4 separate regions of the Homo sapiens genome follow, and regions 2, 3 and 4 are each linked to region 1. Evidence: promoter capture Hi-C in 16 types of primary human blood cells and fetal thymus (Javierre and others, 2016). All regions are on one chromosome and are shown on one strand. Each heading gives the region's core, a stretch centred on a gene start or on the middle of the fragment in contact. The rest is flanking DNA. Distances are from core to core; before and after follow the strand shown. Region 1 holds the start of TFRC (transferrin receptor). Region 2 holds the start of NCBP2 (nuclear cap binding protein subunit 2). Region 3 holds the start of PAK2 (p21 (RAC1) activated kinase 2). Region 4 holds the start of NRROS (negative regulator of reactive oxygen species).

Region 1 (2,700 bases), core at 72-2,571:
AATCGATGACAAAAATTATCTTAACTCTGAGTTTTCTTGAGAAGCATATTGTAACCCAAAATTCAGGGCCGGGGGGCGGGGGGAACCAGCAGGGTCCACAAGTACTCTAGACAGCCTAACCTTAATTTTCACAGTAAGCTTAGCATATAAGCATGGGGTAGCCAAATACAATTTCCTACTTTAATCCTCTTATCAACGGGGAAGAAAATGGAAAAAGCTGCAGAATCCAGTCCCCCGGGTAAGTGAGGTCTCTACAAGCAGTAAGCAGAGGGAAAGCGTTATCCGAAAAGAGCCGAATCAGAATGTATTTTCTTACCCACCCTCCCAACCTTAAAAGAACTGTCCAGCAGAATGTGACACAATCGGCCTCTCCGGCGCCCATCAATCCAGCACAGCCCTCTGACCACACCGCTAATCTCCAAGTATCTTTCACAAATAAGTCACTCCTATGGCTCCCGTCTTGTAGTGAGAACTGCTAGCAATATTCTTAATGTGAACACCTGCGGCGTTCAGTCGGATTCTGCCTTGAGAAAACAGAATCCACACACAAGGCGAACAGGCAGAGCATGGCAAGATCAGGTTGTACCAGAGCCGAAGGGTAAGTTTACAGAAACCCGTATCTAATTAATGCCTGTAACACGCTAGTAACCGAATCGGGGACAGCTTTGTCCCTTTCCGCAGTGAGAACGGGGCCCGCCCGGAGCCCGGGGAACCGAAGGTTTAGGAGCCCAAGGTCACCCACGAATCCCAGCCGTTCCCTGGGGCGACTTCCTGGAGCAGCCACGTGTTCCCCCGGCGCCGCACGCCGCGCAGCTGCACCTTGGCTGCGCCCGCGCTCCCGGACCCGCAGCCCGGAGCCGGCGCACTAGGGCCTGCGGCCTTCAAGGGCGAGGACCCGAAGTCCCCGGGGCTGAGAGCGACAGTGGGGGTACACCTGGTCTCGTCATTCGTCGCTCTGTGACCGAGGAGGCGGGCAAGAAGGCAGAGAGAAGGGAAGGGACGAGAGGCGAAGGGACGAGAGGCGCAGGGACGCCTCTGCGCACAGCCGCCGACCCCGTGTACCTGCAGCCGCTCGAGGCGCCGCCACAGCCCCTTCCCCACAGGCTCGCGGCCCCGCTCCATCCCGGCCGCCCCGCCTGGGGCCGCGACCGCTTTCCCGCTCCCCGTGCGGCTCCCTATGGCTGCTGGACAGCACCGGAGCGGCCGCTCCAGCCAGCCCCGCAGGATGAAGGGAGGACACGAGGGTCGGTGTAGTTCTAGAAGCCCGCACTCACACTAGCGCGTCCTCCGTCCCGAGCCGCCACCCGATATCCCGACGCTCTGAGGGGATGGCGGCCCCTAACCGGCGGTTTATAGCCTGGCCCCGCCCCCGGCCCCCAGGGGGGCTGTGCGTCACTTCCTGAGGCACGTACGCTCGCGAGGTGCTCTGACAGATCGCCCGGGGGGCGGGGATGCGCGCGCAGCGGGCGGGGCCCTATGCGGAGGGCGCTGCGGGCGAGGCGAAGGCCAAGGGAAAAGGCGCCAAGGCAGCAGGTGCCCCGAGGAGCCGCGCGATGGGCGCACTGGCCTCTGCCTCGGCGCCTTCCTCCACCCTGGTAGCCTGGCAGCCTCCGCCTGACCTTGACCAACCTCCAGTCCCTGCAGTGCTAGGTCCAATCTGTTGGCGTTGACGCTTAAATGTTGGATATTGCACTGCGGCAGTGCCTTGAAATGTACGTGCAGGATGGAATGTTAGGTAACTATTAAAGCCACTCTTGTGAAGATGTATTTTGCAGCCTCAGAAATACAAAAAGGAAAAGAAAAGCAAAATGCAAATTTTTATTCAGAATGTATACAAGCTGCACTTTAACCAAGACTAGCGGAGTGCTTTGCGTAATGTTTAATGCATGAGGGAATAAAAGGGAAAATAGAAACAAGTGACTTAATAGGGTGATAGGATTGTAGATTAACTTTCGTTTTCATTGCCATCGCTGTTATTGGATTGTGCAATGAATAACAAATAAATAAAATTCAATTCTTGTCACTGTTTAAACTCTTTCCAAACAATCACACCCTCTCCCTCCCTCTGGTCAGTAACCAGCAGGCCAGGGAGGTAGTAGCTACAATGCAAGAAAGCAACCCATACCTTAAAAAGCATTGCACATAAACTGACCTTCAGGCCCGTAGGGACACAGAACAGCCCTTTAAGAAGCAAATCCGTTTCTGGGCCTTGGGCTTTTACTCTTCCCTTTATTTCTTCTGCTCTAAGATAGAGAAAGTACTTGGGATTCTCACCGCCTTTCTCTTTACTCCCATTCTCTAAAATCTCTCTCCCCAAAGAGAAGTGTTTAAAAGTCATATGAGTTGCCAGGCGCGGTGGCTCACGCCTGCAATCCTAACACTTTGGGAGGCCGAGGTGAGCGGATCACGAGGTCTGGAGTTCGAGACCAGCCTGACCAATATGGTGAAACCCCATCTCTACTAAAAAAATTTCAAAAAAAATTAGCCAGGCATAGTGGCACGCGCCTGTAATCCCAGCTACTCAGGAGGCTGAGGCAGAAGAATCGCTTGAACCCAAGAGGCGGAGGTTGCAGTGAGCCAAGATCGCGCCATTGCACTCCAACCTGGGCGACAGAGCAAGATTCCATCTCAAAAAAAAAAAAAAGTCATATGAGCAGGAGCATTGCTGCACCTTTAATGATCTAATCAGGAAAAGGTTAA
Region 2 (2,700 bases), core at 88-2,587, 860 kb after region 1:
CAAGCGATTCTCCTGCCTCAGCCTCCCGAATAGCTGGGATTACAAGCGCCTGCCACCACGCCCGCCTAATTTTTGTATTTTTAGTAAGACGGGGTTTCACCATCTTGGCCAGGCTAGTCTTGAACTCCTAACCTCGTGATCCACCCGCCTCAGCCTCCCAAAGTGCTGGGATTACAGGCGTGAGCCACCGTTCCCAGCCTTGACTAAATAAATCTAAGAGCTTCCCTAATTTAGCGTCAAACAAAATTTCCCTTTCCCTACTCTAGTAACACATTTCACACATTCTCCACACTTACCCTCTGCTATATGCGCCCCTTCCTTTCCCAGTCACAAGGGGATTTTTCCCTTTTCTGAATCCTCACTACAGGGGATTATGAGCTCGCAGAGCGCAGAAACTGTCTTCCCTCTCCCTCTAGGGTTTAGCACAAGGATTTGGCGACAGCACTCGATAAACGTTTACTAAATAATTGGGTTAATGAGTCCCGCCCCGCCAACCCCCAACCGTATTCCATCCCTACCTCCGCTGATACTGAAAAGTCTACTTTGAATATCTGCTGCCTCCCCTTTTTCCACAAAATATACTGTGATATAGTCCGGACTAAAAATTTCCCTCTTCTGAAATCCAGCAATTCTCCGATCTTTACATCCGAACACCCTCAAAGTGCCGAGCTTGGCGGGTCCACCTCCCCACTCCGAAGCTTCCCCGAGGGCGGAGTGAGGACTCCACTTGTGTCTCCCACGCACCGCGTACAGCTTCCGTAACACCATCCTCCCAGAGAAGGGGCCCGAATCGCCGAAGGGCACTGCTTCGCCGATTTAAAAAACAAAGCAAAAAGCCCCGCATCTGCATCAGGAAGGCGCCTCTGCCTACTCTGGGAGAGAGAAGGGCACCCCTCCCCCTTGCTACGTAGTCGTCTGCGGAGGCACAACCGTGGAAACGGGAGCCGCCACCACCACCACCGCTCAAACCTCTCGGCACTGGCTGGGGTACAGGGAGCGGCTGCGAGCGAATGGGATAAGCGAGCCTCCAGTTCCCCGTCTTCCAGAGCAAGTGGCTTCAGTGATATCCAAGCGCCCTTCCAGCACCCATTCCCTGCCTCGCCAGCAGGCACCGGGGCCCCACTTGGCGTTTGCGGATTTCAGCTGAATGGGAGGCGACACAATGAGACAAGAGCAAACCGTTTCTCAGCGTTCTTGCCCAGGGCCTTCCCGTCTCGCGGCCCGGCCTCCCTCACCCGGAAGTGCTGGTCCCGGTACTGGCTCAGCTCCACGTAGGAGTCGCTGCGCAGCGCCTTCAGGAGGCCACCCGACATAGTGCAGAGAAGCGGACCACAATGCGGCGACTCCCGGCACGAGGCTGCGTCCGCGATGGCGGAAGCGGAAACGCGCGGAGGCGAGCATCTCATTGGACCCAATCCGAGGGCGGCGTGTCGTCATCAAGCTGCGCGGGGGCATAGACGTCCGGGTCGGGCGCCGCGGGGCGGAAGACGAGGGCGGCGAGGTCGGGTTCCGGGCGCTTGGAGAAGATGGTGCTGCGGCGGCTGCTGGCCGCCCTGCTGCACAGCCCGCAGCTGGTGGAACGTCTGTCAGAGTCGCGGCCTATCCGACGTGCGGCGCAGCTCACGGCCTTCGCACTGCTGCAGGCCCAGCTGCGGGGCCAGGACGCGGCCCGCCGCCTGCAGGACCTCGCGGCTGGGCCCGTGGGCTCCCTGTGCCGCCGCGCTGAGCGATTTAGAGACGCCTTCACCCAGGAGCTACGCCGCGGCCTCCGAGGCCGCTCGGGGCCACCACCAGGTAGCCAGAGGGGCCCTGGCGCAAACATTTAATCCTGGGCTGTGCGGGGCCGAGGCCGCTTGCTTTTCCTTCCGGGCTCTACAGTGGCATCAATGTGGAGGGGTCATTCCGGGCACTGCGCGCGGCTTCGAATCCCGACTGGGATTGTTGGCCTGCAGACATCCCACGCATAAGAGCCTAGGCCAGACCGCCCGCTCCGTTGAAGTCTTGTGATTGGACAAGACACAGTGTGGAGACAGCCCTAAGCCTAACAGAGATGAAGGTAGGCTGGGTCCAGACACGGCACCTACGGAGAGCCACGGACCGAAGCCAGAGAGCCTTTCCTCTGCAAGTGGGACTGAAACTCTTGACAGATGCTGCTCAATCTGACTGGTATAGCAGGACAGTTAATTCCAGGGACGATATGGATGAAAAGACAACCCTACAGCTGCCAAATTCCTTTGATTAAATGTGTGAGCTGGTTGATAGGCATGAGTGTGATACTTCTCAGGCAAGATGTGTTAAGAATACCGGGGACTGTAGGCCTATGGTAATAATAAACACGTATTTTATGAAATGAGTCTTCTGTGCTGGGACTTGCTCATTGCACTCTATGTGTTATCTCACTCCTTACAACGACATTCACATGAGGAAGCAGATTACTTTTTGGATTTTTTTGTAGAGATGGGGTGGTCTCGAACTCTTGGGCGCAAGTGATCCTCCCGCCTCAGCCTCCCAAAGTGCTGGGATTATAGGCAAGAGCCACTGCGATGGAAACAGAGGCTGCTGCTTAAGTTGCCCAAAGTCTTGCAGAGTGGGATGTGAGCAGAGGCATTTGACTCCAGGGCCTAAGTCCTTAACACAGCTCTGCAGCATTTACCCTGATACTCAACCCCTTCCTTCCCCAACCCCCCACCATCAGGCATT
Region 3 (2,700 bases), core at 57-2,556, 660 kb after region 1:
ATTCCTCTTTCTTTCCACTGCCTTCCTACTTTATTTCCCTTCTATTCTTGCATCTCTATACTCCATTATCCACATTGCAGTCTAGTGATCTTAAAGTGTAAGCCAGGTAACATCGCTTTCCTGCTTAAAAAAGCCTTTTAATGGTTTTTTGTAATATAGACTTTTTACCATGGCATTCAGGATCTTTCATGACCTGAATCTTGTCTGCTGTAGTGTTTTCTTAATAGTACCGCCTTCTTGTTCTAGGCCCCAGCTACACAGGCCTTCTTAACTGACCGTAGCAAGCCCTTTTCTTTCTTCTCCTGCCTGTATTGCTTTTCTCTGGGTGCTTCTTATTGCTGTCTCTTTCTGTTCTTGCCTTAAGTGTCACCTCCTTAACGAGGCCTTCTCCGACCACCCTATCCAAAGTAACCTCGCCAAGTTTTTTCTTATACCAGGTGTGACTACTTTAATTACTGCGTCCTCATATAAGCTCCACAAAGGCTTGGTGAATCGTGTTCACCCTTGCATTTCTTTTGTGTTTTTTGTTTTGTTTTTGAGGCATGACGACTCTGTCACGCTGAAGTGCAGTGGCCCGATCTTGGCTCACTGCAGCCTCCTCCTCCTGGGTTCAAGCGATTCTCCTGCCTTAGTCTCCCGAGTAGCTGGGACTACAGATGCGTGCCACCATGCCCAGCTAATTTTTGTATTTTTAGTAGAAACGGGGTTTCATCGTGTTGGCCAGGCTGGTCTCGAACTCCCGACCTCAGGTGATCCGCCTGCCTCAGCCTCCCAAAGTGCTGGGATTACAGGCGTGAGCCACCGCACCTGAACCACCCTTGTATTTCTGATGCTTAACAGTGTCTAGTCCATATCAGACACTCAAATATTTGTAGAATAAGTGAAACATTGATGAACTCCTCCGTGGATAAAATAGGGAAGTCTTAATTTGCAAGGAGGTGATACTTAATTTAGCAGCAAAATTTTAGTTAAGAATTTGTAAGCAAAAAAGCAAAATGGATAACGGATGAATTCCCAGAAACAAATGTCGCGGAGCAGATGTGTATAACAGCAATCGTCTGTCAGCGTCTTCCGTCGGCAGAGACCTGCTTGGAGACAATGCTGAATTAAATGAGGGACTGGCTGCTCCTCTCAATACAAAGACTACCCAAGGAATAAAAGCAACGTCTATCACCGAACTACTACTCCCAGCGGCCCCCGCGCGGGCCTGCCCATGGGAGGTGGCGCTCGTCTCCGCCCCGGGGAGCTCCGGCTTCGGGGCGGGAGGGGTTCTGGGTTCTGGCCCCGCCCCGCCCCGCTCCCCGCCGTCTTCCTCCCCCAGGGTTGTGGCCACGCGCAGCGGCGGCGGTTGTTCCGCTTCCCCTCCGGCCCGGGCCGTCGCCATTGCCGAAGGCTCCCTCCCCTCCCCTCCCTGGCGTGCGCAGGACTCCGCCGCCGCTGGGCCTAGCGGTAGCAGCGGCTGCTCCAGCGCGGCGTCTCTTCCCGCCCCGCTTCCCCTTCCCTCCCCTCCCCTCCCCGCACCGCGCGCTAGCCCGGGGCGGCTCCGCAGCCCGCCGGGAGCTCTGACCGAGGCGCCTCGCTGGGGCGGGGACCTTGCCTTGCCCGGGGTAAGTGCACACAGGCCGGCCGGCGCGGGACGCAGGCCGGGTCTCTTCCTCCTCCTTCCTTCTCCGTGGCCTGGCGGGCGGGAGCGGCCCGGGACGGCCGACCTGCCCCGCGCGGGGCCGGGGAGCCGCCACCTGCGTGCTGGGAGCCGCAGCTCCTGGGGCGGTGGCTCATTGTCTGCTCCCCAGGGCCGTTTTCTTCGCTGGCTTTAGCCAGAAATGGGAAGCTCGCTGGGCTGCGGAGGTCTGACTCTTCCTGGACCCAGCCCTGCTCTGAACCTCGCGGCACCACGGTCTCTGCCGACTCTCGGTCTTCCCTCCCCTCGCGTTTCACCCTCTTCCTTTGCTCCGTTTTCTTAATGCTGGACCAGACTCTCCGGTTTTGTTCCTTGATTTTTCCTCTCACTGATTCTCAGCCCCTGCTTGCTCGCTCTCTGTTCACCCGTTTCACTGCTCAGGAATATTGTCGCGAGTAGCTTGACTGTTTTCTCAGCTCCAGCCTGTAACCTCTTTTCCACATTCCACATTGGTAAAAACGTAGAGCGTCCCGGGCGCTTGAGGGCCACCGCTTACGAACTGATCTTTCGGAGCTTCTCCTCGCTCCTGTTTGAGCTTCAGCCTAGGGGTGAAATTTGCTTCTTTAGATAACTTAGGTGAAGTTAAGATTGGTTTTTCACCATGTTTGGCTCTCTTGGAAACACACGCACGCACAAACACAAAACGTTGCCACTCAACCTTTTAACTAATTCTTTAAAGATAAGTCATCCAAGAACAGAAGCGTGTCATCGTCAGTGGGTGTGAGGTTGTACCCATCCTTGTATCTTAATTTTAGTAGTACTCTCCCTGGGCAGTGTGAGCGTGATTTGTTGTCCCTTGATAAATAACGAACTCCGGTTGATATCATTATCTCACTTCTGCGTTACAGGCGATGTGTCCTTTCTTTGTTTTCTTTTTTAACCTTTATAAAAAGACAAAATGGTTAGGCCTAAAATTAAACTACGAAGAGCTGTGTTTTGGATCAAGGTTGTGCACGTCACGTTTTTTCCCCTGCTGTGTTCGACTCTTCCGCTCTTATAAGTAGGCAGGATATTGAAAT
Region 4 (2,700 bases), core at 140-2,639, 560 kb after region 1:
GGGAGTTACCAACTGATTGGTAGACACAAAAGACATGAAGTAGAGAATGTGCATACAAGAGAGAAAGAGGCCTGAATCAAGCACCTGGGTTTGCAACAATTTGATCTTTATTTAGCTTTTTCATTGGTGTGATTGTTATTACCATTATGAGATAATATTTTATTTTTAAAATTATTTTTATTTTTTTAAAGACGGAGTCACACTCTATCACACAGGCTGAAGTGCAATGGCGTGATCTTGGCTCACTGCAGCCTCAACCTCCCTGTGCTCAGGTGATCCTCCCACCTCAGCCTCCCAAATAGCTGGGACTACAGGTGCGTGCCACCAGGTCTGGCTAAGTTTTAAATTTTTTGTACATATGGAGTCTCAGTATGTTGCCCAGGCTGGTCTTGCACTCAGGCGGTCCACCTGCCTTGGTCTGCCAAAATGCTAGGATTACAAGCCTGAGCCTCTGTGCCCGGCCATGAGTGAATATTGTAGAAAGCAGAGACAATGTGCCAGATGTTTGGAGTGAAAAGGACTTGGCTCCTGTTCTCTTAGGATGGACAATGCTACACACAATCCCAAATCACAGGCTATAAGAGAGGTGACCCAATCCTGCAGGACAGTTCAACGTTTCAGATTTGAAGGGGAGTGAGAGAGATCAGAACTGGAGGCCCCTTGTCTGAGCCCCCGACTATGGTGGTCCACGTCACTCCACACGCAGCAGGCACTGTAAATATTTCACCTTCTCTAGACGACAGTAGTTCCTCGAGAACAGGAGCGCTGGGGTAATGCATATGAAGCTCTTAGCACAGTGTCTGGCGCTGCTTCAATGATGGCTATATGATCAATTATTCTTACTCCTTTGAATTCTTGGCAAGAGCTGGCAGGGAACTTTGTACACATCAGGTACAAAAAAACCCATCCGCGCAGTCTAAGATCAAGAAGCTCTTGGCACTCTCTGACAGTCCTCGACAAAGCAATTCCCCTTCTTTCTAACACAGGGTCCGTAAAGGAGATGATCCACAAGGACCGGCTGAGTGGATAAGAAGACAGACTGGCTGAGCGGCTGACCCTGCCAGACGACAGGCTGTGCCTCTTTACCACGGTGCTGCCGTTCCCAAAGTCGGCCTCAGCTTGGTCCTTGGCTGGAAGCTCGTAGCAAAGTTTCTGGGTCAGCAGACCTCATAGGCAAGGGGCCCCTAGCTGGCCGCCCCCAGCCCTGCCAAGGCACCAACGCAAGAAAGCCGGGGGAGCCTCGGTCGCATTGCTGGAAGATCGTCTAAACATCCCCGCTGCTCGGCCGCTAGGCCGGCAGGTGTTCGGGCCCCGCTCCCCCGGCCCGCCCCACCCCCGCGCCCGCGCCGCGCTTCCCTCTAAGAGGCCGGGTCTGAGTGAGCCTGTGCTGAGTCGCCGAGCAGCCCGCTCTCCATGTGACTTCAGTTTCCGTCCGTTCCTTCCGCTGGTGCTAAAATAATCTGATGCCCCACAGCAAGGAGGTAGCCCAGCCCCGCGTTCGGCTGCTCTCGAGGAGGCCGGAGCCCCCGGAGACGATGCGCCCCGCGCAGCCGCCTGCGCCTGCGGGAGCCGTGAGTATTTCCCGCGTGGGGGCGTCCCCGGGGCACAGCCGGGGCCCTTCTCCAGGTGGGCGAGCTCGAGCGAGGTTGGGTGGTAGGAGGTCAGCGTCCGCGGCCCGCAGCTCAGGGCTCACGAGGAAGCTGTGGCTTGCTGCGTCCAAGCGCCGCCGCTTTTGTGCTGGGCGTGGGGGCTGCAGCTCTGGGTGGAGGTGGAAATACCTCCCTCCAGGAGCACTTAGAGCTGAGAAAGGTGGTGCGACGTAGTGGAAACCACGAGGGCTTCAGATTCAGACGTGGGTTTGAGTCCTGGCTCTGCAGGGAGCATGTGAGCAGACAGTTAAGGTTTCTGAGCCTCAGTTTTCTCATCTGCAAAATGGGAACAGAGATGCTCCCTCCCTGGGCTGGGCGACTGGATATGATGAGACCGCTCTGTGCACACTCAGCATGCTGAGCACTGGGCTCTCCTTTCCTGTCCCACAACGTGGATTGAGAACCACTATCTCATAGATGAAGACACTAAGACTGGTTAACAGCAACACCTATCACAGATGCCGTCCACGTGCCAGGCCTGTCCAAGGCCCTGGGGATACAGCTGTGAAAATGTGCAAAGCCCCTTCTCCCACAGAACGTTTGTCCTTGGGAGATTCACTGGGGCTCTGTGACTTGGATCTTAGCCTAGACTTAGATCCATGGCTTATCAGAGGGAGACTAACAGGAGGGCGACGAAGACTCGGACGCTCTTCCGTAGCCCTCGTGGCCCCTGCATGTGGGCCGGCTTCTGAAGGGGTCAGCGTACTTCCCCACGTACCCAGGAGCTAGACGGAAAGAAGTAAGGAGCCACTGGTGTGGCTTTGTGCTGCCTCTGAGAGAAGGTGGACACGTGCCAGTTGGTGGCTGCGACTGGAGGAGGCCGGATCGGGGGTCCTAGGAATGGAGCCTCTCCGGACAGGGCTGGTCGGGGCTGCTGTGCTTCCCTAGGGGCTGAGGGGACCCCACCGGAGGCTTCTTCATGATGGGCACAGCCCGTTAGGAGTCTGGGTGCTAGAAACATTCAGCGTCTGTGGCCCTCCATGCTTTCCTGTGTGCTCCTCACCTGCCGGCTGTGACACACAGACTGTTCTGTGGATGCTGAGGGTTTGCT

What was found. Contacts are between HindIII fragments. The CHiCAGO score rates a contact against its expected background, and 5 or more counts as called.
Region 2: the fragment with the promoter of NCBP2 here is called in contact with the fragment with the promoter of TFRC in region 1 in 1 of 17 cell types (fetal thymus); the score reaches 6.5 in fetal thymus.
Region 3: the fragment with the promoter of PAK2 here is called in contact with the fragment with the promoter of TFRC in region 1 in 6 of 17 cell types (naive CD8 T cells, non-activated CD4 T cells, total B cells and 3 more); the score reaches 12.0 in naive CD8 T cells.
Region 4: the fragment with the promoter of NRROS here is called in contact with the fragment with the promoter of TFRC in region 1 in 8 of 17 cell types (fetal thymus, total CD4 T cells, megakaryocytes and 5 more); the score reaches 12.8 in fetal thymus.

Annotation. Positions count from the first base shown.
Region 1 is chr3:196,080,769-196,083,468 of GRCh38, forward strand. TFRC (transferrin receptor) reads right to left here and starts at 1,322. Exons shown (of 19, transcript NM_001128148.3): 1 at 1,275-1,322. RefSeq lists an enhancer at 1-73 and silencers at 955-1,254, 1,305-1,644. The HindIII fragment of the contact is 5,608 bases long and covers 137-2,700 here.
Region 2 is chr3:196,941,191-196,943,890 of GRCh38, forward strand. It overlaps NCBP2 (nuclear cap binding protein subunit 2), which reads right to left and starts at 1,338. Exons shown (of 4, transcript NM_007362.5): 1 at 1,236-1,338. The coding sequence starts at 1,313. NCBP2AS2 (NCBP2 antisense 2 (head to head)) reads left to right here and starts at 1,484. Exons shown (of 1, transcript NM_001355243.2): 1 at 1,484-2,353. The coding sequence starts at 1,527. The coding sequence ends at 1,826. It overlaps NCBP2-AS1 (NCBP2 antisense RNA 1), which reads left to right. Exons shown (of 3, transcript NR_046630.1): 3 at 1,203-1,344. RefSeq lists enhancers at 670-1,343, 802-1,041, 1,072-1,211, 1,262-1,561, 1,344-2,017 and 2 more. The HindIII fragment of the contact is 3,931 bases long and covers 697-2,700 here.
Region 3 is chr3:196,738,551-196,741,250 of GRCh38, forward strand. It overlaps PAK2 (p21 (RAC1) activated kinase 2), which reads left to right and starts at 1,307. Exons shown (of 15, transcript NM_002577.4): 1 at 1,307-1,607. RefSeq lists a silencer at 1,098-1,887. The HindIII fragment of the contact is 10,729 bases long and covers 1-2,700 here.
Region 4 is chr3:196,638,305-196,641,004 of GRCh38, forward strand. NRROS (negative regulator of reactive oxygen species) reads left to right here and starts at 1,390. Exons shown (of 3, transcript NM_198565.3): 1 at 1,390-1,571. RefSeq lists silencers at 1,027-1,456, 1,477-1,576 and an enhancer at 2,027-2,146. The HindIII fragment of the contact is 14,541 bases long and covers 1-2,700 here.